Regions from separate parts of the Homo sapiens genome. Here regions 1, 2 and 4 are each linked to region 3. The links are contacts of gene promoters, found by promoter capture Hi-C in human tissues and cell types (Jung and others, 2019). All regions are on one chromosome and are shown on one strand. Each heading gives the region's core, a stretch centred on a gene start or on the middle of the fragment in contact. The rest is flanking DNA. Distances are from core to core; before and after follow the strand shown.

Region 1 (6,592 bases), core at 2,865-5,364, 120 kb before region 3:
ACACACTGAGGTCTGAGGGTAAAGACAGGCCTGAGTTCAAATCCTGACTCTGACTCTGTCGCCTCTGTGTGATCTTGGGCAAGTCACTTCATTCACCTCTCTGCCTCCATTTCTGCATGAAGTCCTTAGCAGAGGGATAGGCACACGGTAAGCACAAGTCTCTGCTACTGTTATTACTCATTCGAATCCACCCCAGCCAGATCTGTCTGTATACTGTCCCCTCTAATTATCCACCCCGTGCTTATTTCATGCTGTGCCTTCTACTTGGAATGCCCAATTCCTTTTCCTCTTTTGGTCCAAACCCCTATCAACATTGTTCAATCTTCATCCTTTAATGGCTGCTGGGGTACCCATGATGGGGAGCACAAAAGGTATGAAGACAAAGAAATTTATAGGCACCCTGCCTGGGTGACCCCTCCCCTTGGTGAGGGATGAGCATCTCCAGGAGAGGTACTTTTTGGTGGAGGTAGTGTAGCATAGTAGTTCAGAGTATGAAGTCTATAGTCAGAATGCCTGGCTTTAAACCTTGAGTTTATATGTATAAAGTTCTTAGAATAGCTCCTAGTAAAGACTAAGCACTCGATGTGTGTTTTTGTTTTTTTTTTTTTGAGATGGGGTCTCGCTCTGTTGCCCTGGCTGGAATGCAATGGCAAGATCTCGGCTCACTGCCACCTCCACCTCCTGGGTTCAAGCGACCTTCCTGCCTCAGCCCCCCGAGTAACTGGAATTATAGGCATGCACCACCATACCCAGCTAATTTTTATATTTTTAGTAGAGATGAGGTTTCACCATGTTGGTCAGGCTGGTCTCGAACTCCTGACCTCAGGTGATCTGCCTGCCTCGGCCTCCCAAAGTGCTGGGATTACAGGCGTGAGCCACCATGCCCGGACTAGCACTCAATATTTTTTGCCTAGAATGATCATTATTAATACATCCTCCCATCCTGGAACTGTGATGCTCCATGACTGGAAAATGAGGTCCAAGACACCTCAGGTTGCTAAGTTTCCTGAAACTGCCCTTCTATCCCTCTATCTTCCCAGGTTCTCACCAGCAACTGGGAGGGAGGCAGATGGACCAGAATAGCCACACTAACTGGGGGAAAAACAGGCTCAAGGAATAACTGATGAGCACCAGGTACCAGACAGCGGGGCATTAGGGACCCGAGGTTACCCCCACCCACTGACACATGTGACATTTCACTGTCACTCTCTCTTGTCTTGCTTTAAACCAGTGCCTGCTGAAGGTGACTAGCTACTCTGAGGTTTACATCATGAACCCTCTCCCTCACCCTGGGTCAGGTCATGCTGCCTTACCATGGCTTGGAAAATCCACCCTCCCTTATCCTGTGCATTTCAAAAAGTCACTGGGATACCAACAACTTCTGCTCACTCCCGCCTGCAGGGCTTTTACTAAGAGAGCTCTTTCAAACCTGCTTAGTTGGCAGGACAGTGTAGTGGTCAGAGGCAGGCTCTGCCATCAGACTGGTTGGGTCTGTTCCACCACTTGTTCTACGTGTGACTTTGAACACATCACTTCACCTCTGAGTCCCGATGTCCTCATCTGTTGAATAGGGCTAATGATACGGTTGTGATGCGGACTGAGATCATACCTGAAAAGTGTCTATAAAAGAGTACCTAGCATAGTCAATGCTGAAAAATGCTACCTACTATTACAAATACCTTGCAGCATGAGTTTTGTCTTATACAGACAGTGTTCTCAGAAACAAAGCTGTAAAGTGAGGCCAGATACATAAAATCCATAATGTTGTCTGAACTGGAAGGGATCTCAGATGATGGTATGCACACCTCCATCAAGCGTCATAGCCTGATGCCCTTAGAGGCCAGGTATATATCAGAAATGCCCAAAGGGGGGTTGGTGGGAGCAGAGGCAGACTAGGGCACTTGTGCAGGGTCTAAAGGGCATGCTCAACATTAAGCTCTATATTATTGCTGCCACTAGGAAAACAGATCTTGTTGAGTTGCTAGATCTTTTGACTTCTCAAGAAAGGCTGGAAATCTCATTTTTAGGGAAAAATTCTTGATTCTTTGTACCACTCACATTTATTTAAAAACCCAACACAACAAAATAAAACCAAACCAAAGTATGGGTTCAATAAGACATGTCTGTAGGTCAGATTCAGCTCTGGGAAAGCCAGTTCACAGCCTCTGCATTGCCTCATAAAGTTGAGGCCTACAGCTTATGTGACTTGTCTAATGCCACAGAGCGAGAGAGCTCTCACTGAGCCTAGTCCAACCTTTTTCAAGTAGGCATGGCCTTCTGGGACACCCCCGCCACTTACCTGTGTTTGCATTGCTCCCAATACTGTTGATGGCTGGCGGCACTGAGCTGGATGGGTGGAAGGGCACGTGTCCATTTTCCCGGGGTGGCTTGTCCTGCCAGCCTGGCCCTGCCTCCCCAGGGCCTAGCTCTGCAGGGCCCCCCCACTCATCTGAGCCTTGACGTGAATGGTAGGAGGGCTCTGGCCGGGAGCGGAAGCCACTAGCCAACCGCTCTTCCAGGTGGCTCAGCCAGAGGGCCAGTGCGTTGCGGTCCTCCAGTGTGGTGGCTGGGTGGATGAGGGCATAGGAAAGCAGCTGGCGACTCTCCTCGATGAAAGCATTGCTCTCGATTGAGTAGGCCAGCACTTTCTGCAGTAGCCTCATGTACTCCGACTTGGCCTCTGTGTTGCCTGGCTGAAGCAGGGGAAGGTGGGACAGCAGGAGGGACACCACCTTCTCTTTGGACTCCTGCTGCCACTGGCTGACGATGGCTACAGAAGGGATAAGAAGAAATATCAGGAGAGCCAGGGTGGGGTACTCCTATTCACCTGAGAGCACTGCCTATGGCCTATTCCCTCAGCTCCAATCTTCTTTTCATAACGATTTTCTTTTCATAACTCCCAAACTTATCCCTCATATAGGTGAGATCAAACACACTGACCCTGCCTCTGGAGTAATTTTTGTCTTATTTTTTTTAAGAGATGGGGTCTCACTATGTTGCCCAGGCTGCAGTGCAGTGGCTATTCACAAGTGCAATCCCACTATTGATCAGCACGGGAGTTTTGACCTGCTCCATTTCCAAACTGGGCCAGTTCACCCCTCCTTAGGCAACCTGGTGGTCCCCCACTCCTAGGAGGTCACCATACTGGGGCCACACTTAGTGCAGACACCCAATCAGCATAGCACACTATAGCCCAGAACTCCTGGACTCAGGCAATCCTCTTGCCTCAGCCTCCCAAGTAGCTGGTACTACAGTCATGTGCCCACCACAGCTGGTGTAGAGTAATTTTTCTTTGTTCTATCACTCCTGTTCTCAGAAACCTGCAGTGCCTCCCAATCAGCCAAACTTGCTACTCTGGAATCTGAACAACTCCTGTCCCCAGGCCTGCTCTCATGCTTTATCTCCATGACTCCTTCCTCCATTCTTCATGGCCTCTATGCCATTTCCCCTGCCAAAAAGCAGTCTCCTTCCTGAATGGAGAAGGCAGTGGTATATGGTAGTTAAAAGCTTGGGCTCTGGAATCAGATGGTCTAGACACCCCAGCTTACTAGCTAGATCTTGGTAAGCTACCTTGAACCTCATGGAGCACTAAATTATCTGCGAAATTTTGGAGATAATTACAGTACCCAATTCACAGTGTTGCTTTGAGATTCAATGAGCTAGCAAAGAACACAAAGTGGTTTGGCGACATAATAAATGCTTGCTATTGTTTTTTAACTGGTCTCTCTGCTTCTAGATTCTCCCCTTCCAATCGATCCCATACATCCAGATGCATTTATCTTCCTAAATCACAACAGGATGTCATGTTCCTGACCAGGAGTTTATAATGGCAACCAGCAAGCACCAACAGACTCAAGTCCAAGAACTCCTAGCCTAACATCACCTTCATTTCCAGGGCACCCTCCATCTCCCATTCCTCCAGATAAAGACTCAGCTCAGGATATCTCCCCATCTTCCTTGGGGTTCTCTCCACAGTATGTATTTATCCAAGCTCCACACCTTGGCTGAGATTCAAGGTTTTGGCCCGCAACAACCTCCTTCCTCCTATACAAATTCTCTTTTGTAGATGGCCTAACTTACTACCTTCCTCCAGGAAGCATTCCCTGGCTGTTCCATGTCATGGTCATCTTGACCTCTCCTTTCTATCCCACTGTGTGAGGACCTGAGTCTACCCTGTGGAGATAAGCCAGGTTTCCCTTTTCTTTTTTTTTGAGGCGGAGTCTCGCTCTGTCGCCCAGGCTGGAGTGCAGTGGCGCGATCTTGGCTCACTGCAAGCTCCACCTTCTGAGTTCATGCCATTCTACTGCCTCAGCCTCCCGAGTAGCTGGGACTACAGGCGCCCACCACCACGCCCAGCTTATTTTTTGTATTTTTAGTAGAGACAGGGTTTCACCGCATTAGCCAAGATGGTCTCGATCTCCTGACCTCGTGATCCACCCGCCTCAGCCTCCCAAAGTGCTGGGATTACAGGCGTGAGCCACTGCGCCCGGCCTCAGGTTTCCCCTTTCAACCCACAAGGGAGGTCCCTAAGAATATGGCCCCAGGCTGGCCACATCAAAGAAGGCTTGGGTAGGAACTGTTACAAGTCTGACTCTCCCCCTCAAAGACCTTATTAGCACTGGGCGTGGTGGCTCACGCCTGTAATCCCAGCACTCTGGGAGGCTGAGGCAGGTGGATCACCTGAGGTCAGGAGCTGGAGACCAGCCTGGCCGACATGGTGAAAGCCTGTCTCTACTAAAAATACAAAAATTAACCGGGCATGGTGGTGGATGCCTGTAATTCCAGCTACTTGGGAGGCTGAGGCAGGAGAATCACTTGAACTCGGGAGGTGGAGGTTGCAGTGAGCCGAGATCGCGCCACTGCACTCCAGCCTGGGGGCAAAGTGAGACTCCGTCTCAAAAAAAAAAAAAAAAAAAAGAAAAAGAAAAAAAAAACCTCATTAGCACTTCTGTGACTAGCTAAACAGGGTGGAAGATGGAGATAATGCTGACAGGACAAGGAGAGGGACAAAAAATACCAATACTTGGGAAAAGAGACAAAGATTTAGGTCTGAGGCCAACTACGCTCTCACCCTTGGGCAACTGAGCTCACATCTGTAGCCAAGGTGATGACTTACAAATATCTCACAAAGGAGTTCTGAGAGATGTGCTAATGGTGAGGTCTTGGAAATGGGCAAAGGAGCTGGCTCTAACCAGACAGAGCTAGGACCCCAAAGGAGTGGGTGATGAAAAGGAATAGGCAGAGATGTGGCATATGTCCCTTTACCACCACTTACTGGCCATGTGACTCTGGGCAAGTGTGATCACTTCACTGAGCTCTATTTTCTCTATCTGTAAAGTGGAGCCCAGAATCATTCCTACCTGGCATGGCTGCTATGAATTATGTGAGGCCACAGCATAGAGTAAGTCCTCAGTAAACACTAGCTGCTTTTACTAGTATTGTGGTTATTATATCTCACTGTGTCTCCCTCCTTTCAGATACACACAGAGATTCTAAAGGCACAAGCCAAATCTCTGGGCCCAGGAAACCAAGAGGCTAGGAATAAGCACCTATAAGGAAAGTCTTGGAAACCTAGACATCTGAGGGTCTTTCAACCCAAGTTCCTTAGGCCTTTACGATTCCAAGGACATCTAGCATGCTTCAGGATTGACTTAAAAAAAAAGTTCCATGGACTTCTGGTCTCCTCTGCCCACACTGAAGGATGGACACCTGGCCTTGCATACAAACTCAGAAATGCCCTGTCTGTAGCCCTATTTCTCTTAATGATCCCCTTAGAACTCTGTGGCCTAGAATTCACATACACTCCTAATTCTGCTTAAGTTTGTAGCCTTAGGAAAATGAATCTCACACAGTTCCTAACTCCTGGCTATAAAGACTGTGCATTTTCTTGGCCTGGGGCTCTTTGCTCTAAGCTTCCAAGAGAGAACACCTGTTTGTTAGTTTTTGTTTTCTATTTTTCTGAGATGGAGTCTCGCTCTATTGCCCAGGCTGGAGTGCAGTGATCTCAGCTCACTGCAACCTCCGCCTCCGGGTTAAAGTGATTCTCCTGCCTCGGCCTCCCAAGTAGCTGGGATTACAGGCGTGCACCACCATGCCTGGCTATTTTTTTTTGATGGAGTCTCACTTTGTTGCCCAGGCTGGAGTGCAGTGGCACGATCTCGGCTCACTGGAACCTCTGCCTCTGGGGTTCAAGCGATTCTCCTGCCTCAGTCTCCTGAGTAGCTGCGATTACAGCCACATACCATGACACCCGGCTAATTTTTATATTTTTAGTGGAGGGGGCGTTTAACCATGTTGCCCAGACTGGTCTGGAACTCCTGACCTCAGGTGATCCACCTACCTTTCCTCCCAAAGTGCTGGGATTATAGGCGTTAGCCACCGTGTCCTGCCTGTTACTTTTTTCACTATGTTGGCCAAGCTAGTCTCAAATTCCTGCTCTCAAATGACTTGCCCACCTCAGCCTCCCAAAGTGCTAAGATTACAGGCATGAGCCACTGTGCCCAGCCAAGGGAACACCTGTTAAATCCATTCATTCAAAGTCATCAACTCATACTATGTCTACAGCATTGGTTAAAATTAATAGTAGAACCAA
Region 2 (7,101 bases), core at 1,447-3,946, 110 kb before region 3:
ACCAAAACGCAAGCCATACAGTCAGCCAGTGCCTACAACAGTGCCTGGCACGTAGAAGGTGCTCAATATATATTTATTGAATAAATAAATAGCTATAGAAGGTGAATGTGGAAGCCACACTTGGGATTTCTATAGCCCTAGGGGGGAAGAAGATAGAAGGAACAGCTCATAGGATGGTAAAGGGATTTGAAAACCTTGTTTTAAGAAAAAAAAATTGAAGGCACTGAGATTTTCCTCTGGGGAAGAGAAGACTCAAGGGGAATGGCATAACTGACTTTGAATATCTGAAGAGGTAGCACGCAGAAAAGAAATTATATTTGTTCTTTTACTCTAGAGGAGAAAAGCAGGGTAGATGACTCCAAGGGAGTGACAACATGGGATAGAGGAAATGCTGAAAGTCAAGAAAATTCAGTTCTAGTCCTGCCCAAGCCACTGATTCACTTTGATCACGGAGCTAGTCTGTTCTCTTCTCTAGAATGTAGGATAAGGAGCGGGACTGGGTGAGACATGACAAATAGGTTTTACCTCACAGGCTAACTCCAATCGATTGGTAGTGGCTGCCTGGAGCACTGCGATGAGAAGAATCCTGAAGAAATGAATGGGAATATCCATTAATGGGGAATGATTAATAAACTGGGGCAGATCCCACATTGTATGATATAACGTATCTATTAAAAACATGCCTAATCTGGCCAGGTGTGGTGGCTCACTCCTATAATTCTAGCACTTTGGGAGGCTGAGGCAGGCAGATCACTTGAGGTCAGGAGTTTGAGACCAGCCTGGCCAACATGGCGAAACTCCATCTCTACTAAAAATATAAAAATTAGCCGGGTGTGGTGGCGGGCGCCTGTAGTCCGAGCTACTTGGGAAGCTGAGGCAGGAGAAACGCTTGAACCCGGGAGGTGGAGGCTGCAGTGAGCCGAGATTATGCCACTGCACTCCAGCCTGGGTGACAGAGCGGGATTCCATCTCAAAAAGAAAACAAGAAAACAAAAAAACAAAGCTATATACAATGTTTGATCTGTAACTACTTGGAGGGGTGTCCATAAGCTACACAGTAATATGTACAATATAATGCCATTTTTTAAATTAAAAAAAAGCCACATACAAAACCCCTTATATATCTTATATATGAATATTTATGTCTATATGTGTATAAATGTATAGAAGAATACACCCTCGGCTGCTAACACTATCTTGGAGAAACAGGGGGATTATTAACACTATCTTTATATAACTTTGTACTACTTCACTAGTTGCAAGTGAATACATATTACTTTTGTAATTTTTAAAAAAGAATTTAATTAAAAACAATTTTAAGGCAGCATACTTCCTGACTCAGTGAGAAAGAGTGCTGTGATTAATTATCAATGTTTGCCCTGGATGCAGGGTGGATGAGTGGTAGCTCACGCGCCTAAAAAAATCGGTTTTCCTTCCCAGCTCCAGCATTTTGTGGCTTTCAGTCCCAAAGAGGCAGCAGCTGCTTCAACATAAGGAAGAATTTTAAAATAACGCATCTGTCCAAGAATGGAACTGGCTGCCATGTGAGGAGGTAATAAGCTCCCTGGCTGCTGGAAGTGGTCAAGCGGAGGCTGGATGAACATCCCTCGGGAGTGGGAGGGATTCCTTCACTGGGTGGCAACTCATAAGATAGAAGGACATGTTACTATTTCAGAGGGAACATTTGTGACAGGAGGTTTGATATACCAACAGCATTTACAGCAAAAAAACGACCAAATCCACAAACAGACCAAAGTTGTGCACACTCTTTCCCATAAATTCTTTTACTGGGTTGTTACTTTTCCTAAGCAACAGCACTGTTCCCCCCCTCCACCCACCCAATAAGCTGCTGACTAAACATTAATCCAGCTTTTCCCCCCAGGCCAAACGATAGAAGCAAAGCTTTCGGACATAATAGGGTCTCAAACATGATGCTTACAAGGCCAGGCTTTGAACAAAGCAGGCCAACTGGGACTATGGTGAGTTGGAAAGTCCACACCCGGTCAAAAGGGAGAAGTCACTATCCACCTCTTATCAACTGCTACCATGAAGGAATGTGGGTCCAGTATTGTTACGTCTTAGGTTTTTTTTTTTTTTTTTTTCCCCTAAAGAGGAGCCAGATATCTGAATTTTAAAGTAAAATCCCCCCCTATTTTCAAATGTGGGAAACGAATCACATTGAAACAATAGTGAACAACTACACAGAAGAAGACATACCTGTGGTCCTTGGAACAGAAGAGCACAAACTAGAAAAAGACCAGAAGTCTGCTAACTATCCCTCCCTTGGGCCTCTCTGGTTTATACCTTCAAGCCACCCCACTGCTCAGGGAACATGACTGGTGGAGAAGATCTAGTGATGGAGGATGATTCTGACAGTCTTCAGTAAATACTGGAGGCTTTAGTGAAACAGTTACTTTTAAGATTTCACTGTTAAAAAAAAATCATCCCTGAAGGTAGGGTTCCTATGTCTTCTGGATGAGAGAAGGATGCTTTGTGTTCGGTCTAGATGTTAACTGGAGAGGACTGGATGGCCCTCTTCCATTAAAGGGCCAGAGGCCGCCTGCTACTTTCTATCCCATGTGCTTGGCTGAAGTGACAGAGGGAGACCTGGGTGAGGCATCTCACTGTGGCAGCATCTTACTGTATCCATTTCCATCTTCTAGTATCAACACCCTGGGTTCCCCTTGGAGAAGGAACTGTCTTTCTTGGCTCCAGAAGTGGACATGGGGTAAAGCCTGGCCAAGGATAGTCCTCTCTGGATTTTTGCTGGAACTACTAAGGAAAATAAGTTCTTGGTTAGGGTTGCTCAGATTACACATCGTCTCATGATGTCACCAGTTGCCACCTCTTCTATTTCACGGTGGAAGCCTGCTTCAGAATGAAACTAACAGATGACAGCAAAGTCAAGAGATGGGGGAGGGGGAAAGGGAGATCTGTTCACATGATTTAAAACCTAGATGCAGCTAGCCTGAAGCCTCCCCCTTGTGGCCCACTCTTTTCAGTTACATAGATGAATAAATTCGTTTTTGACTTAGGCCAGTTTGAGTTGGGTTTCAGTTAAAACTGAAAGAGCCTTGACAATTCCCATGCAAAACAGAATGCACTACTGGTCTGGTCTCTTTGTCCTCATGTGACCAAAAATGACTCCTTGCCTTTGAGGAAAAACACAAGAGGGGAGCCTCTATAACAGAAGTCTCTCCAACAGCCCAGCAATATTGCCACCATACTTGAAGAGGTCCAAGTGATCTTCTTGGGAAGCCCCTACCACCTCCAGAGGTGGGAAATGAGGTTAACAAAATGGCTAAGAGGGCTGGGTGCAGTGGCTCACGCCTGTAATCCCAGCACTCTGGGAGGCATGGGCGGGTGGATCGCTTGAGCTCAGGAGCTCGAGACCAGCCTGGGCAACACAGTGAAACCCCGTCTCTACAAAAATTACAAAAAAATTAGCCAGGCGTGGTGGCGTGCACCTGTAACCCCAGCTACTTGGGAGACTGAGGCGGGAGAATCACTTGAGCCCGGGAGGCAGAGGTTGCAGTGAGCCAAGATCGTGCCACTGCACTCCAGCCTGGGCAACAGAGTGAGACCCTGTCTCAAAAAACAAAAACAAAACAAAACAAAAGCCAAAGGTTCCAGATCAGCAGCCTGGGCAACATGGCAAAACCGTTTCTACAAAAAATCCAAAAATTAGCTGGGCGTGGTGGTGTGCACCTGCAGTCCCAGCTACTTTGGGAGGATCACTTGAGTTCTGGAGGTCGAGGCTTCAGTGAGCTGAGATCATGCCACTGCACTCCCACCTGGAGAAAGGCTGGGCACGGTGGCTCACGCCTGTAATCCCAGCACTTTGGGGGGCCGAGACGGGCGGATCACCTGAGGTCAGGAGTTCGAGACCAGCCTGGCCAACACGGTGAAACCCTGTCTCTACTAAAAATACAAAAAATCAGCTGGGCGTGGTGGCAGGCGCCTGTAATCCCAGCTACTCAGGAGGCTGAGGCAGCAGAATCGCTTCAACCTGGGAGGTGGAGGTTGCAGTGAGCTGAGATTGCGCCACTGCACTCCAGCCTGGGGGACTGGAGACTTTGTCTCAAAACAAAAACAAAAACAAAAACAAAAAAATGCTGAGATGTTCCAGGACAAACTGCCCTCTGGGCTTCTTCTCTGGCCCCAAACAGTGAGAAAAGGCCCATATGCCCATAAACAGTGCCTCTGGAGTCCAGCTCTCTTCATTCAGAAGCAGGATGGTGGAGTTAGTCAGACCTGGCTTAAATCCTGGCTCTCCTGTTATACTTACTTGCTGTATTGACTATGACAAGTAACTCTGTTTCTTCCTCAATGAAGCTTGTTAGAAGAATTAAATGAAACAATGTATTTAAAAATACCGCGCATGATGCTTTTTTCCTCCTCTATACTTCATTTCAATAGCAAGCATGATGCTTAGCATGTCTTCATACATCATACATTGTCAGGCCCTTTGCCAACAGCTTTCCACAGATAAGCACATTTGATCCCCAAAACTCTATTTCAAAAATATATAACATACATATATGAATATATTATCATTTTACAGATGGAGCAACTGAGGCACAGAGAAGTTAAGTCACTTTGCCCAAGACTGTACACCAAGCTGAGATTTTCAAGGCCAGGCAGTCTGGCTTCAGAGCTCTTGCTTGCTCTTAACAATGCAAGAAAGCTGGGCATGGTGGCTCACATCTGTAATCCCAGCACTTCGGGAGACTGAGGTGGGCAGATCGCTTGAGCCCAGGAGTTTGAGACCAGCCTGGGCAACAAGGTGAAAGTTGGGCCTAAGGGCCCTTTAATACCAACATCTCTGGATGAATAAGGGGATCCTATCTGCCTTCTTACCCATTCCTAGTTCTTTTTACAGCACGACCTAGGCCTTTGAGAACTTACACTTCATGAACAAGGTAACAGGCTAGTTACCTAGGGTTAACTCACTTTCATAACCTGAGAAGAGACTGTCAGAAGCCAAGGGAGCACAACTTCTCTTATAAGAATCAACCATTATTTCCAGAAACTCCTGAAATACGTACACAAAACATGTACACCACTGCATTAGCAAAGAATGAGCTTTTTGTATGAATGGTGCTGGGGAAGGGAGGGAGAGGAGAGGAGAAGCCAGGCAGGGCCTCCTGGAAGATAAGTACAGTATGGGGAGCTCCGGTAAACTCTGGAATAGAGAGGAAGCTAGCATTCTTCCTCCCACTCCTAAATGTCTTGACACCCCTTCCCCCCGAAAAGTTTATTCTCTGCTTCCTTTCCCTTCTTTACACTTGTTTTCTCTCACTTAGGCATGTAATTAACTCCTGTAGATTCAATCATCACCTCTCTGTGGACAACTGAGACATTTTTTTGAGTCATCTTTGACTTCTTCCATTTCCCAAAGACCCAGTCATTAGGTCTTGATATTTCTTTTTTCTTAATGTCAGCTACACATGCCTTGCTTATCTTTCCCCAAACCTAAGTGGCTCTAGAACCAGACTGCCGGGTTGGAAATATAAGCCTGCCACTTACTACCTGTGTAATTTTGGGCAAGTGATTTCACCTTGCCATGCCTGTTTTGTCATCTGTAATGTGGGTGTAATAATAGTACCTACTGAGAAGGAAGACAGAAAATAATAATAGTGCCTACTCTCATAGAGTTGTGAGGCATAAATGACTTGGCTATTATCATTATTCTAGATTCCTCTCTTTCTCTAATCCCATCATCAAGTCCTGTTTTCTGTACACCCAAAATATATCTGCTTCTCTACATCTTCACTACCACCACCACCACCACATTCATGTCACCATTTCTCATCTGGACAAATGGATTGTCTCCTAACTTTCCTTCCTGATTCTGTCCTGACCCTCTGTTTTCCTCCCAGAAACCAAAGTGAGCTTTCTAAAAAAATTAATCAGATCATGTCGCTGTCTTGCTTTTAAAAACTCCCTTCTAATAGTTTCCCAATCCCCTTAAATGAAAATAGAAACTCCTTACTGTGGCCCTTAGGCTGCAAGTAATCTGGCTTCTGTCAGCCTTTCCAACCCTCACCCCTCTCCCTCACTTAGGCTTTAGCCACACTGGTCCTTGCGATTCCCTGAACATATGGCAGGGCTTTTGCACCTGCTGACCTCTCTGCCTGAAATGCTCTTCCCCGGACCGTCACAAGGTTGGTTCCTTCTCATCAATCAGATCTGGGCTCACCTGTGCCCCATTCTGCCTCATCTGCCCAGTAGGAAGGAGTCTATGATATCATCATCAAGAGATGTTTCTTCAAAGGCTGCAGCTCTTCCAAAAACACCTAGACTGTAAGATCCATGAGAGAAGGGAAGACTGTAGCTATATTATTCATTGCTACATCTCCAATTCCTAGCATAGCACCTGGTACATAGCAGGCCCTCAATAAATATCTGTGATAAATTTCCCCACCTTGCAGAGGTCCTTTTTCTGCATGTAACAATGCTTAGATTAGAATGTTCCACTCCCAGATCTTCCCACAACTGGTGCCTTCTCATCTTTCTGGTTATCAGGCTCAACTGTCACCTCCCAAAAGAGGCCTCTTCTGATCCCCCTGTCTACTACAGTGGCCACTCCCACCCTCTCTTTCACACTGTTTTATTTCCTTCACAGCATGAATCACACTCTGATTTTTTTGTTTCCTCCCCCCATCAGAATATAAATTCCATGAATTTCAGGACCTTGAATGTTTTATTCACTGCTCTGTCTCCAGTACCTAGAATAGTGCCTCCATGCATTAATGAATGAGTGCAGGCTGGAGATATTTGAGACTTGCATACTCCATACACTGCTGTTCTGTAACTTGCCCTGAACCCGCTTCTATTCAACAAGTTTACACTAAAACAAACAAAACAAAACTCCACTCACAGCAATCCTACTTAACTCTCTTCCAAAGTTCTGTGTCTTGGAAACCTTAAACTGTGGTGAGGGTATTGCCATTACTCCTGGATTCTGCTCCCCTGAGGCCACCATCAAGCCAGGCTGATCACCTCATATCACCCGTGATATCCCAAAGCAAAGTGTGGTTGAGTCAGACCAGCCACAAGCTCTCTCTAGACCCAAACAATCACAGAGCAGAGAATGAC
Region 3 (7,224 bases), core at 2,036-4,535:
ACGAGACCCCCGCAGTCCCCGTCGTCAGCGCGAACGCAGGCTCAGGGTCAATCACAGAAGGGAGCCCTGCCGGGAGGACTCGGCTCCAGGTCGGGGCGAGGGGCTTTGCTGGGGGAGCGCGGAGTGCAATTCAACCCTGGTTCGCGCCTTCGGGGAGCTCCCTGGTTCAGTACACGACAGGCACGACCGTGCGCTGCCAGTACCCATCCACGTCCAGGAATCCCAGACTGTGCAGAGGTTAGGGGCCCTGGCGAGGGGGCCTAGCCGTATGCGATAAGCGCCGCTTGTCCCGCAGGAGGAAGAGGCGCTGAGCTGGGGGCAGCGCAACTGCTCCTTCCGCCCCAGGAGGGATCCTCCGCGGCCATCGGTGAGGCCCGGGAGTGGGCGGGAGAGGCATGGCCCGGGCGCGGCCCGCTCTAACGCCCTCTCGTCCCCGCAGTCCTGCGCTCGGCTCCGCCACGTGGCCCGGGGCATCGCGGACGCCCAGGCAGTGCTCAGCGGCCTGCACCGCTCGGAGCTGCTCCCCGGCGCCGGCCCGATCCTGGAGCTGCTGGCGGCCGCGGGGAGGGATGTGGCGGCCTGCGTGAGTGACGGCCGCGCCCCGCCGCCCCTCTCCCCCGCCAGCTTCTCTGCATCCTCAGGCCCACGGCGAGCCCCAGCGCTTTGCCAATCTGTCCTGCTTAGCGGAAAAACCCATCCAGACCGGAGTCGGGTCCTCTGGGTGTCCTGAAATCCGGGCTCGAGTCTGCGGCTGGGAGGGCCACGGGCAGATGCAGAGAGGGGCTTCGTCCTTCGCCTTTTCCATTTGCCTCATGTCCCACCTCCAGCTTGAGCTGGCACGGCCAGGCTCCTCCAGGAAGGTCCCCGGGGCCCAGAAGAGGCGTCACAAACCCCGGAGAGCGGTGAGTGCAACAGGCAATACAGGGTTAGCCCGCAGGGAGGACCAGGCGAGGCTGACAAGGACGGGACTGAGGCTGCGAGCAGCGGGACTGGAGGGGGATTCCGGGGGCGGGGGGAAGAGCCTGGCTTAGCCCCGCTGCCCTCCCTCCCTGGCTCCAGGACTCGCCTCGGTGCCGCAAAGCCAGCGTGGTCTTCAACCTCCTGCGCCTGCTCACGTGGGAGCTCCGGCTGGCTGCACACTCTGGGCCTTGCCTCTGACCCCGCCCCCTCTGGCAGCACGGAAACCTCCACGCCATTGGCTGCCGAAAGCAGCTCCTGTCGTCCATTGGGCTGGCCGGGCGAGGCTCTCAGTCAATGGGTGCTGAGGCACGAAAACTTCTTCGCAGCCTTGGGCCTGACTTGGATCCACTGTCTCAGATATAAGAGGAGCGGGTCCTTCTACAGGGAAGAGACCACAGTTCTCCAGGAAGCCACGATATTTCCTCGGGGTGCATTGTACGACCCTCCAACGGTTGCTGTGGCAGGAAAAAACTTGAGCTCTGGAAACCGTGGCTGACCCCAGGCAACAGGGACCAGTTCCTCCTTGTGTGGTTACCAGGACACCCCCAACACCAGGTCCTAACCCCGGATTTGTAGCCCCACAGCCAGCTTTGAGATTCTGTGAATCCGTGACTCTTGGATCCGGCATCTAAGGGACACCAATCCATGAGGGATTTGGTAGTGAAAGGCCCAAGGGTCCTTAACCGACTGTGGTTCTTTGGATTCCCTTACGTGTGTTTGTATTTGTGAAGTTCCTGTGCATTTGCTATTCTGTCTCCCGGTTTAAATTTATTGCCAGTTATCAAAGAGTGTTTTGATCGCATTGGTTGTTTTCCGTATGATGATTGTGAGGTGCACCTTACAGCAAAAAAAGAGGCCGAGCCAGGGACTCAGGTGGCCTGAGTTTCAGTTCTGACCCTGCCAGTTAATTACAGTGGAATTCAGGGCAAATTACTTTTCTGAGCCTCTGTTTCCTCACCTATAGGATGGGTTAGCATACTTGCCTTGTGGAGGAGTAGTGTCCGTTGAGATCACGTTTTAAACTCTCCAGCTGAGGTCCTAGTATGGTCTTAATGAGTGGATTCTATTAAATAATCACTCACATAAATACACAAACAATTGTGTTATTAATTTTTTCTCCAAATCTGTGCATTAGCAATCTGCGTTGCTGAATGCACCCCTCCTTGCCAAGGTCACACGGCTAGTGAGGGTCAGAACCAGGTTTGAACCCCAGACCCTTCATCTCCAAGACCCATGCTCTTCACCACTGCCTGAACTTCCCTAAGAAAGACGGCACCCACGTGGTGTCCTTCAAGTCCTTCGTCACACCTCAATTCTTGAGCAGAGCCTCATATTCCTGAGTCCTTCCTTGCCTGGGCAATTAAGAAATATTGGCCTCTGGGCATGGTGGCTCACACTGAAATCCCAGCAATTTGGGAGGCCTAGACAGAGAGATGACTTGACATCAGGAATTTGAGACCAGCCTTGCCAACATGGTGAAACGCCATCTCTACTAAAAATATAAAAATTAGCTGGGAATGGTGGCACAAATCTGTAATCTCAGCTACTTGGGAGGCTAAGGCAAGAGAATTGCTTGAACCCAGGAGGCGGAGGTTGCAGTTAGCCAAGATTTTGCACTGCACTCCAGCCTGGGTGACCGAACAAGACCCTGTCTCAAAATATATATATATATATATATATATATATGCCAGGAGTGGTGGCTCAGGCCTGTAATCTCAGCACTTTAATAGGCTGGGTGAGGAGGATGGCTTGAGCCCAGGAGTTTGAGGCTGCAGTGAGCTGTGATCATGCCATTGCACTGCAGTGACAGAGTGAGACCCTGTCTTAAACAACAACAAAACCAGAGCAGGTGGAATCCTCTTGGGAACATACCTTCCTGTAGGTTACCCCTGAGTCTCCATCAGTTTCTCTTTCCCTCCAGCTGCTCATCTGGCTCACTAGCCCTGCCCTGCTCTGGGCTTTCCCAGCCTGGGGCTCCCCTGGTGGCCGGTGTCTTACCTGAGGCTGTGTTTTCACTTTTCCTACATCAGCTGGGACTGCCCTTCTGTCAGGGATAAAAGCTGCCCCATGGAGCTCAGGCAGGAATTACATCCCAGACAGAGCTCAAAACTGACAGAAAGAGTCAAAGCCAGGACACAGTCTGAGATCCAGAAGAGGGGACTGAAAAGAACAGAGACTCCAGACAAGACCCAAACAGACCCTGGGTGACAGCCTCAGAGTGTTTCTTCTGCTGACAAAGACCAGAGATCAGGAATGAAACTAGGTGAGTCCCACATCTCTGTCCGTGCTCAGCTCCTGCAGCCCCTGCCCTCAGTGGGCAGCCTCTGCATTCCCTCAGCTCCCTTTCTCTCTGTGACACAGACATGACCGGGGACTGCATGCCAGTGCTGGTGCTGATGGCCGCAGTGCTGACCGTGACTGGAGCAGTTCCTGTCGCCAGGCTCCGCGGGGCTCTCCCGGATGCAAGGGGCTGCCACATAGCCCAGTTCAAGTCCCTGTCTCCACAGGAGCTGCAGGCCTTTAAGAGGGCCAAAGATGCCTTAGTGAGTCTCCCCCTGCCCTCCTGCCATGGACTAGCCTCCACCCGCACTCCAAGGGTCACCATGCTTTCCCACTCCCAGCTTCCTTCACTGGGCTAGCCTCCACCCTCCCTGCAGTGGGCTATCTCATGCTCCTACTGCAGGGACTGACTCATGTTTTCCTGAAGAAGAGGGTCCTCTACCATCCTCCCAGCAGTTAACCTCCCCTATCCTGTTGTCAGCCATCCTCCAATCCCATCAGAGTGGTCTAACCTCCACCCCTCCTGCTGGGGCTAACCTGTGCCTTTGCTGTCTAGGAAGAGTCGCTTCTGCTGAAGGACTGCAAGTGCCGCTCCCGCCTCTTCCCCAGGACCTGGGACCTGAGGCAGCTGCAGGTGAGAGGGGGAGTCAGGCCCACCCCTGCCCTCCCAGCCCTGCTCACCTGGCTCTGTAGTGGCCCCTTCACCTTCTCCTTCTCCATTGTCCCTCTCTCCTCTCCCCACACCTGCTACCCCTTCCCTCTGCTCCTACCTGACCACACTGGCTGTGCCCTCTCCCCTGTGCCTGTCACCTTCACTTGTTCCTCTCTATCCTCCTCCCCCAACCTGTTCCCCTCACCTCCCCCCTCACCTGCTCTTTCTCACCTCTCCTCAGGTGAGGGAGCGCCCCGTGGCTTTGGAGGCTGAGCTGGCCCTGACGCTGAAGGTTCTGGAGGCCACCGCTGACACTGACCCAGCCCTGGGGGATGTCTTGGACCAGCCCCTTCACACCCTGCACCATATCCTCTCCCAGCTCCGGGCCTGTGTGAGTCGTCAGGGCCCGGGCACCCAGGTCTGTGAGCTCTGAGCAGCGTCCTTCCCCTGGCCAAGGCCCCGGCTCACACACCGCCCTCCTCTGCCCACAGATCCAGCCTCAGCCCACGGCAGGGCCCAGGACCCGGGGCCGCCTCCACCATTGGCTGCACCGGCTCCAGGAGGCCCCAAAAAAGGTGAGTGACCCGGGAAGAGAGGGACTGAGGTCTGGGGAGCCACTGGGAGCCCAGAACCCAGACAGCCCCTGACCCATCCCCTCCTCCCTACAGGAGTCCCCTGGCTGCCTCGAGGCCTCTGTCACCTTCAACCTCTTCCGCCTCCTCACGCGAGACCTGAATTGTGTTGCCAGCGGGGACCTGTGTGTCTGACCCTTCCGCCAGTCATGCAACCTGAGATTTTATTTATAAATTAGCCACTTGGCTTAATTTATTGTCACCCAGTCGCTATTTATGTATTTGTGTATGTAAATCCAACTCACCTCCAGGAAAATGTTTATTTTTCTACTTTTTGAAATCCTTGTTGAAATAAACAATGAGGAAAAGACACCCATGACGTGGGACTGTGTGTGCGTTGGTGTGTATTTCCTTTGCATTGCTGCCATAACAAATTACCCTAAAAGTAGCATCTAGAACAGCAGGTTCATTGAGTCTGTGCTGTCCACTGGGGTCCCCAGGTCACATGTCACTATCGAGCACCTGGAATGTAGGTGGTGCAACCTCATTTTTTCAGTGAGTGTAAAACATACCCCAGAATTTGAAGATTTACTGTGGAGAAAAAAAAAAAAGTAAAACAGCTTAATTATAATTTATATATTCATTAGATGTTGAAATGATAGCACTTTGGATGTATTGGGTGAAATGAAGCATCTTTAAAATTAATTTAGAGCCTGGATGTGATTGCTCAAGCCTGTAATCACAGCACTTTGGGTGGCTGAGTTGGGAGGATCACTTGAGCCCAGACCAGCCTGGGCAACATAGCAAGATCCTGTCTCTATAAAAAATTAGAGAATTGGCTGGGTGTGGTGGCACAAGCCCATAATCCCAGCTACTGGTGGAAGCTGAGATGGGAGGACTGTTTGAGGTCAGGAGTTCACGACCAGCCTGAGCAACAGCAAGATCCTGTCTCTTGCGTGATCACATCTCACTGTAGCCTCAAACTCCTGGGCTCAAGTGATTCTCTCTCCTCGGCACCATCCTCCACCCTCTCCAGCCCCTCCCCGAACTGGGATTACAGGCTTGAGTCACCGGGTCCAGCCCATTCTCTTTCCAAGAAGCCCCTGAATTGTATAAGCAAACATGAGGTCTCACTAACCCTGGATAAGCCCCTACAGATGAGGAGGACAACTTGGATCAGGGACCCCTGCTGAGTAGAGTTGGCTGAGCTGCTGGAACAAAGAGTCCCCCAAATACAGTGATCATGAATTACAAACCACAGAGTGTCATTCTCCACCAGCTCCTCCTCCCAAGGTGAGCGCTCCCCCTGGCAGGATGGCCCCACTCAGTCATCCAGGGGCCCTGGTTCCTGGCAGTTCTGTGCTCCACAGTCCCCGGGACAGGGCTCCCTCATCATCTTCACCCACCGGACCTCACGGCAGCCTTGAAAAGCCTACGGACCCTTCTCAGAAGGAAAGAACACGTGCAGGACAAAGGAATCCAACTCTGATTGTAATACAGTGATCAAAATATTTTTTCACACTGTGACATAGCAATTCATGTGCTTCTTCATGAATGCATTAAGTAAAAAATCACCTGTGGCAGCTTTAATAACCACTGTGACTTAGAAGCAGAGATGAGCATAAATGACATTTCAAGGTGCCTGCTGGAAGATAACGTGATAGGAAATGCCTGTGATTTCTTTTGGTAACAGTCACAAGTTCTGCTAACACTGCTGTGGTGTGTTGCTGCATTTGTAATGGATTCGTGCTAGATGCAAGACTGGTCCCCAGAGATGTTCCTGATTCCTGGACCTGGGAATATGTTATGTTCCATGGCACGAGGGACTCTGCAGATGTGAGTAAGTTAAGGGTTTGGGATGGGGGCGTTATCCTGGGTTGTCCACCTGGACCCAATGTCATCACAAAAGTCCTTCTAAGAAGGAGGCCGGGGTCAGCATCATTAGCGGAAGATGTAACCACAGAAACAGGACATTGGAGTGATGTCAGGAAGGGAACCGGGGTCAAGGGATGCTGGACACCCCCAGAGGCTGAGAAAGGAGAGAGATCTCCCCTGCTGCTTCCAGAAGGAACCCGCTCTGCTGACATCTTGACTGTCAGAACTGTAGGAATAGAAATGTGCATGCATTTTGTTTTGTTCTTTTTGTTCAGGTAATTTAAATATTTTTTTTAATTGTGGGAAACCCACAAAATGTACCATCTTATCCTTTCTAAAGCACATTGTTCAGTAGTGCAATTTTATTATTTATTTATTCTATTTTTTTTTTTTTGAGACAGGACCTTGCTCTGTCACCCTGGCTGGAGGGCACTGGCATGATCATAGCTCATTGCAGCCTCGACCTCCTAGGCTCAAGTGATCCTCCCACCTCAGCCTCCTGAGTAGCTGAGACTACAGGTGTGTGCCATTAGCCAGTCAGATGCCTGGCTAATTACTGTATTTTTAGTAGAGATGGGGTTTTGCCATGTTGGCCAGGTTGGTCTCGAACTCCTGACCTCAAGTGATCTGCCCCCCTTGGCCTCCCAAAGTGCCGGGATTACAGGTCTGGTCCTAGTGGTGTTTGCTACATTGTTCGGCAAGCAATCTCCAGAACTCTCTTCATCTTACAAAATTGAATCTCTGTACCCATTAAACAACAACTTCCTATTAACCCCTCCCGCTACCCCGGCAAATATTTAGACACGTCTGTTTCTAGGAATTTGACTTCTCTCAGCACCTCATGTAGGGGGAATCATACAGCATTTGTTCTTTTGAGACTGGCTT
Region 4 (6,228 bases), core at 2,819-5,318, 76 kb before region 3:
GGGGCTGTTTGTTGCCGCCAGAAGAGTCCTGCTTCCCCACTCCCTAACATTTACTATGAAACATTTCAAACATGCAGCCAAGTTGAAATAATTATATATATATGTGTGTGTGTGTGTGTATTATATATATATCTATATATATATTTATATAAAAGTTTATTAGAGATGGGGTCTCGCTATGTTGCCCGGCTGGTCTTGAACTCCTGGGCTCAACTGATCCTCCCTCCTCGGCCTCCCAAAATGCTGAGATTGCAGATGTGAGCCACCACGCCCAGCCTGAGTTGAAATAATTTTATAGTGAACACTCATATACCCATCACTTAGATGCCACCACTGACACGTCAAGGTATTACTTCATCATATATCCATCCAGCCACCCTTCTTCCTCCTCCTTCTCCTCCTCTTCCTCTTCTTCCTCCTCTTCTTCCTCCTTTCTTCTTCCTCCTCCTCCTTCTTCTTCCTCTTCCTTTCTTTTCTTCTCTCTTTTCTTTTCTCTTCTTCCTCCTCCTCTTCCTCCCCTCCTCCTCCTCCTCCTCCTCCTTCTTCTTCCTTTCTTCTCTCCTTCTCCTTCTTCTTCTATTTCAAAGTAACATCAGACTGCTGGTTGGGGGCCCAGGTAGGGATGGTGTGTGTAAATTGGGGATGGAAAAGGAAGGTCTCTTTGAAGAGATTACATTTAAGACCATCATGAAAAGAAAGAACCAGCAGCCATGGAAAGGGGAGAAGAGTGCATATGCTCAGGGGCTGCTGCTGTGGGCTGGTGTGTTGGAGGAATAGGAAAGTCATCGTAGAAGCTGAACAAGGGGTCGGATGCGGTGGCTCACACCTGTAATCCCAGCACTTTGGGAGACTGAGGTGGGCGGATCACTTGAGGTCAGGAGTTCGAGACCAGCTTGACCAACATGGCAAAACCCTGTCTCTACTAAAAATACAAAAATTAGCCGGGTGTGGTGGTGGGCGCCTGTGGTCCCAGCTACTCAGGCTGAGGTAGGAGAATCGCTTGAGCCTGGGAGGCAGAGGTTGCAGTAAGCCGAGATCATGCCACTGCACTCCAGCCTGGGTGACAGAGTGAGGCCCTGTCTCAAAAAAGAAAAGAAAAGTCATTGTTAAAACTGAAAGAGGGGCCAGGAGTGGTGGTGCACGCCTGTAAACCCAGCACTTTGGGAGGCTGAGGCGGGAGGATCACTTGATCCCAGGAGTTCCAGACCAGCCTGGGCAACATAGTGAGACCCCCATTTCTAAAAAAAAAAAGAAAAAAAAAAAAAAGAAGAAGAAGAAGCTGGAACAGAAGAGGAGAGTCGTTGGAAATAGGGTCAGCTGGGACCAGAGCTCACAGGGCCAGATTGGCTCTATGAATAAGGCATATCTCCCTCGGTTTCAGCTTCTTTCTTCTTCCATCTGTCTCTCTTATTATTATCTTTTTTTCTCTCCCTCTCTTTTCTACTCCTGTCCAGCCCAGGCCTACCCTCACCCTCTTTCCCCATCACCCCTACCCTGTTCTGCCACATACTATCTGTGTGACCTTGGGCAAGTGACCAAACCTCTCTGTGCCTCTATTTCCCTTATCCATAAAATGGGGATGGTAATAGGACCTCTTCATTTGGCTGTTGTGTAGATTGAATGAAGTGATAGATGTGAAACCCTTAGAATCATTTCTGGCACATAAATAGTGCTGTATATGTGTTCACTTGTGTTGTTGTTGTTATTCCTACCCCCAAGCTCCAGCAGGGAGCACTAGCAACCACGGTGGGAGGTGGGGATGCTGCCTGGGTGGTGGCGATGAAGGGTGGAGTCTGGAGAATAGGGGGATTGTGAGTGTCCCCAGGGACATCTCAGAGTTGCGCTTGGGGTTAAGGTTCACCAGAAGGAGTTATCTGCAGAGCTGAGCTTGATCTGGGGGATAGGGCGGGCTTCATGTAAATAATTTAGGCCAGGCACAGTAGCTCATGACCACCGTGGTCAGGAGTTCAAGACCAGCCTGGGCAACATAGTGAGACTCCATTTATAAAAAAACTAAAACAAAACCAAAAACAAAACAGCTACTGAGGAGGCTGAGATGGGAGGAACACTTGAGCCCAGGAGGTCCAGGCTGCAGTGAGCTGTGATCACACCAGTGCACTCCTGCCTGGGTGATGGAGTGAGACTCTGACTCAAAAACAAACAAATAAAAAAAAAGAAAGAAAGAAAAATTAGACTGGGTGCGGTGGCTCATGCCTGTAATCCCAGCACTTTGGGAGGCTGAGGCGGGCGGATCACTTGAGGCCAAGAGTTCGAGACCAGCCTGGCCAACATGACAAAACCCTGTCTCCACTAAAAATACAAAAAGTAGCCAGGCATGGTGGGACATGCCTGTAGTCCCAGCTACTCGGAAGGCTGAGGCAGGAGAATTGCTTGAACCCGGGAAGCAGAGGTTGCGGTGAGCGGAGACCATGCCAGTGCACTCCAGCCTGGGCAACAGAGCAAGACTCTGTCTCAAAAAAAAAAAAAAAAAGAAAAGAAAAAAGAAAAAGAAAAGAAAAATTAGCCGGGCGTGGTGGCGCACACCTGTAATCCCAGCTACTAGGGAGGCTGAGGCAGGAGAATTGCTTGAACCTGGGAGGTGGAGGTTGCAGTGAGCCGAGATCGTGCCACTCTACTCCAGCCTGGGTGACAGAGTGAGACTTTGTCTAAAAAAAAAAAAAAATTAGGAAAGGGGTTTAGAGGAGGACCTCTGTACAGTGGGATCCAAAACGAGAAGGGTTTGAGACCCCAGGAATCTGGGGCACTGCATGAAACAACACAGATTTTTAGGGGAGAAGTTGCTGGGTTTAGGGACCCTGTGAATATCTCAGAAAGAGAAGGAGAGTGGCCTGAGATACTCAGTGGGGTTTGAGGGAAGGGGTGGGGTTCAGCTATGGGACAGGGGATGGGCAAAGGGGTCTGAACTAGGAAGGAGCAAGGCATTCTGGGCTCTATGGAAGTCACAGGGAGGGGGGACTTTCAGGGTCCAAGAGAAAGAACTGGAGCAAGAAGGAGGCAGGGTCCTCAAGGGGGCAGGACTAGTAGGGGGTGGGAAAAAATTGGGGCTAATTGGGGAGTTTTGGAAACCAAAGGATGTCTTGGAGGAGAAGGAGAGAGAAAGGTGTAAGGTCAAAGGGGTGGAAGATGGTTTGGGGTCTAATGGGGTTCATGGGGAAAGTTTAAGGGTCTTCCATAGGGATAAGAGACATTTTAGGGCCCCCTAGAAGTTAGGCATGGTTTGGAGTTCATACTGGGGGTAAGGGAATGGGTTAGGGTCCTTGAGGGTAGAAGGACATGGCTGGGGGTCCCCAAGAAGGAGTGGAATATGATTTGTGGTTCTGGTGGCTGTAGAATGTGGTTTGGGTCCCCAAAGGGAGTCAGGCACCATCTGGGATTTGGCTGACATATGGTCTGAAGTCTCCCCCGATGTTAGGGTATGATTTGGGGTCCGTGAGGGAAGGGGTGTGGTCTGGGGGTCTATCTGAATGTTGGGATATGATTTAGGGTTGCTGGTGGGGTGGTCTGGATCCCCTTGGATGCTGGGATATGATCTGGGATTCTTCTGGGTTTGGGGGCATGGTCTGGGGTTCCTGACAGTGTGTGGGTCATAGTCTGAGGTCAAGCAGGAGAGCAGGGCATGATTTGTGGTCCTGGGTGGCCCTAGAACATCGCCTGGGTTCTCAAAAGAGGTGAGGCCTGATCCGAGGTCCCCCTGGGTATTAGGACGTGATGGGAGGTCTCTGTAGGGAGATCCGGGGTCCCTAGGCCAGTTGGGGCGTGGTCTGGGGGGGTCTCCGGGGAGGCCGGCGGGGCTGGGGGTGGGGCTGGGGAAGGGTCGGGGGCGGGCCCGCGGCGGCTCGGCAGTGGAGAGGGGTCTGCGGCGGGTTCGGGGCGGGGATCCCGGGTGTGCGACCGCCCCGCCCGGCCGCCCCCACCAGTCGGCGCCCCCTCCCCCCTTGCGGCGGCGGTGGCGGCGGGCGGCGCGGAGGGCGGAGCTCGGCTGCGGCTCGGGAGGGAGGGCGGGAGGCGGGAGGGAGGCGGCCCCGCGGCACCGCGCCCCCTCCCCCGGCCCTCCCCCCACCATGGCGCGGAGCGAGGCAGCGGCGGCGGGGCCGGGCCCGGGGCCCCCCCGGGCTGGGTGAGCGCGGCCTGCAGCGGCCCGGGAGCGGCGGGCGGGGGCGCGGGTGTGTGCGCGGGTGTGAGCGTGCGAGCGTGCGAGTGTGTGTCCGTGGCGCTGCGGCGGGCCCGGCGTGCGCCCGCGCGGCCCTATGTGTGCCCGGTGCCGGCGTGTGCGGCGCCCTGCCCGTGTGGCCATCGGGTGTGCGCGGGGTGTCGAGCCCGGCCGGCGTGTCCGGCTGTGCACGCGTGTCCCCCCGAGCGGCCGCCCCTCCGGCTGTGTGTCTGGGCGCTGTCGCGCGCCCATCGGAGGGGCTGTGTGCAGGTGTGTGTGTGCGTGGGTTGTGTGCCCAGGTGTGGGTCCCCCCCAAGCCCATGTGCGTGCGCGACTAGCTGCTCTGGGTGTTTGTGTCCGGGTTGGATGTCCATCCCCGGGTCTGTGGAGCCGGGTGTGCCCGCTCGGGTGTCCATTTGTGTGTGTGTGTGTGTGTGTGTGTGTGTGTGTGTGTCTGCGGGTTGTATGTCTCCGAGGGTGTGTATCTGTGAGTCCACGGCAGGTTGCTGGCTTGGGGGCTGAGGCTCGGCGCCCAGGCCTCGGTGTGGATTTGGGGGAGGGGAGTTCGCCGCTCCCTCGGTCCATGTCAACTGGGGGGTCCTTAGCGGTCCTGGGGGAAGCGGCCATGTCTTCCCCTTCCCGGTGGTTGCGGGGGGGGGATGGGCGGCCAGGAGGTGGACAGATGGAGGGGGGATGAGAGGCCGAGAAATGGACAGATGGGCCCTGAGGTGGGGGTTGGGGGGCGAAGACCCGGCCCTTCCCCACCCACTCCACCCTAATTCCCCCACCGGCCAGACATCTGCAGACGGAGCCAGAGTTACCTCCATCCTGATGGCCAGGCTGGGGAACCTTTGGGGCTGCTGGTGGGAGGATCTCCTTGAAACGGTGATCTAGGACTCAAACCCCCAAATCCTCTTGAGTTTCCACCTGCTGAACTCTGACCTCTGGCCTGGCTTTTGCCCTGGTTTTTTGGGGGTGTGGAGGGCAGGATGCTGAATGTGCTGCAGGGATGTTAGGATTTCTTGGGCCTGGGAAGTAAGTAGGTGGGGTGGTGGGGGGGTGCCTCAGGGCTGGGAGGAATGTGTGTCCAAGACTGTGTGAGTGTGAATCTGGGCCTGTCTACTGACTGTGCTACTGTGGTTCAGTATTTTCTATGCATTTGGAAGTGTGTAAATCACAGGACTGTTGTGTGAGCATGTGTCTGTTATGAGTGAACATCTTGGCGTGTCTGCAAAGGTGGATCTTTTTGTGCCTGTGTGCGTGTTCCAGTGTGGATCAGCCTCGTATCTGTATGCTTGTGGTTTTGTGTGTGTGTGTGTGTGTGTGAGGTATGTATCTGTTAGCGTGGTGCTGTATCAACTTTGCAACATGGAGATGTGTGAAGTATGAGTGTGTCTAGGCATTTAAGAGTGTGCACTTGTGTATGTTTGCACAGGTGTGTGTGTGTTTGTTAGATGTGTGTGCCCCTGTGTGCTGGTGAGTGTGCAAGGTAGATCTGTTGTAAATGCATGTACCTGGTTGTCTGTTAGGGGGCACATGAGTTTCTCTGTTGTATCTGTGCATTTGTGTGTGTGAACTTGCATGGCAGAGTCAGTGTTGTACATGTATTGTTGCATGCAGGTGTGTCAACCTTGAGGGTATGTATCCATCTATGTTGTGAGTCTGTTTGTGTTTTGGTGTTGGTCTCTGGGGGTTGTGTATGTTCAGACATGTATGTGAAAGACACATGTGTCTGTGCCCTGGCACAAGGCTGTCCCTACTCTTGGGTTCAGTGGGTTTGAGGCCCATGTGGCATGACCTCTGGTATACTGGGGTCCCGCCTGGGGTCCCTGGACACAGTGTGTCCATATGCCAGGCCAAGTGCCCATAGAGGGCGGAGGGCACACAGATCATGTTGCTATGTTCATAGAAATCCAGATGTAGAGACTTGGGTTGTGGGCTTGCGTGGGTTCTGACATGGACACACATGTTGGTGTGGGCAATAGTATCATGGCAAGGATGGGAAACTTTGGCCCTTCCCCAGCTCTTGGTACCGTTCAGGACTTTGGAGTTGAGGG

The links. Contacts are between HindIII fragments. The study calls those that stand out against the background at their distance.
Region 1: a contact is called between a fragment that was not itself captured here and the fragment with the promoter of IFNL3 in region 3, in 8 of the 25 tissues and cell types used here (H1 embryonic stem cells, liver, lymphoblastoid cells and 5 more).
Region 2: a contact is called between a fragment that was not itself captured here and the fragment with the promoter of IFNL3 in region 3, in 14 of the 25 tissues and cell types used here (IMR-90 fibroblasts, bladder, dorsolateral prefrontal cortex and 11 more).
Region 4: the fragment with the promoter of LRFN1 here is called in contact with the fragment with the promoter of IFNL3 in region 3 in 4 of the 25 tissues and cell types used here (adrenal gland, heart right ventricle, mesenchymal stem cells and 1 more).

What each region holds. Positions count from the first base shown.
Region 1 is chr19:39,365,833-39,372,424 of GRCh38, reverse strand. SAMD4B (sterile alpha motif domain containing 4B) reads right to left here. Exons shown (of 14, transcript NM_001384574.2): 4 at 2,300-2,770. It also overlaps the pseudogene RN7SL566P. Among named protein-coding and RNA genes, the nearest start is that of PAF1, 22 kb to the left of the region's middle. The HindIII fragment of the contact is 4,760 bases long and covers 1,735-6,494 here.
Region 2 is chr19:39,347,491-39,354,591 of GRCh38, reverse strand. It overlaps SAMD4B (sterile alpha motif domain containing 4B), which reads right to left. Exons shown (of 14, transcript NM_001384574.2): 2 at 526-586. Among named protein-coding and RNA genes, the nearest start is that of SAMD4B, 8.6 kb to the right of the region's middle. The HindIII fragment of the contact is 6,332 bases long and covers 1-5,862 here.
Region 3 is chr19:39,241,067-39,248,290 of GRCh38, reverse strand. IFNL3 (interferon lambda 3) reads left to right here and starts at 3,285. Exons shown (of 5, transcript NM_172139.4): 1 at 3,285-3,503; 2 at 3,797-3,874; 3 at 4,134-4,283; 4 at 4,384-4,467; 5 at 4,561-4,738. The coding sequence starts at 3,324. The coding sequence ends at 4,659. It also overlaps the pseudogene IFNL4. The HindIII fragment of the contact is 34,684 bases long and covers 1-7,224 here.
Region 4 is chr19:39,318,703-39,324,930 of GRCh38, reverse strand. LRFN1 (leucine rich repeat and fibronectin type III domain containing 1) reads left to right here and starts at 4,068. Exons shown (of 5, transcript NM_020862.2): 1 at 4,068-4,138. RefSeq lists a silencer at 4,220-4,479. The HindIII fragment of the contact is 12,533 bases long and covers 993-6,228 here.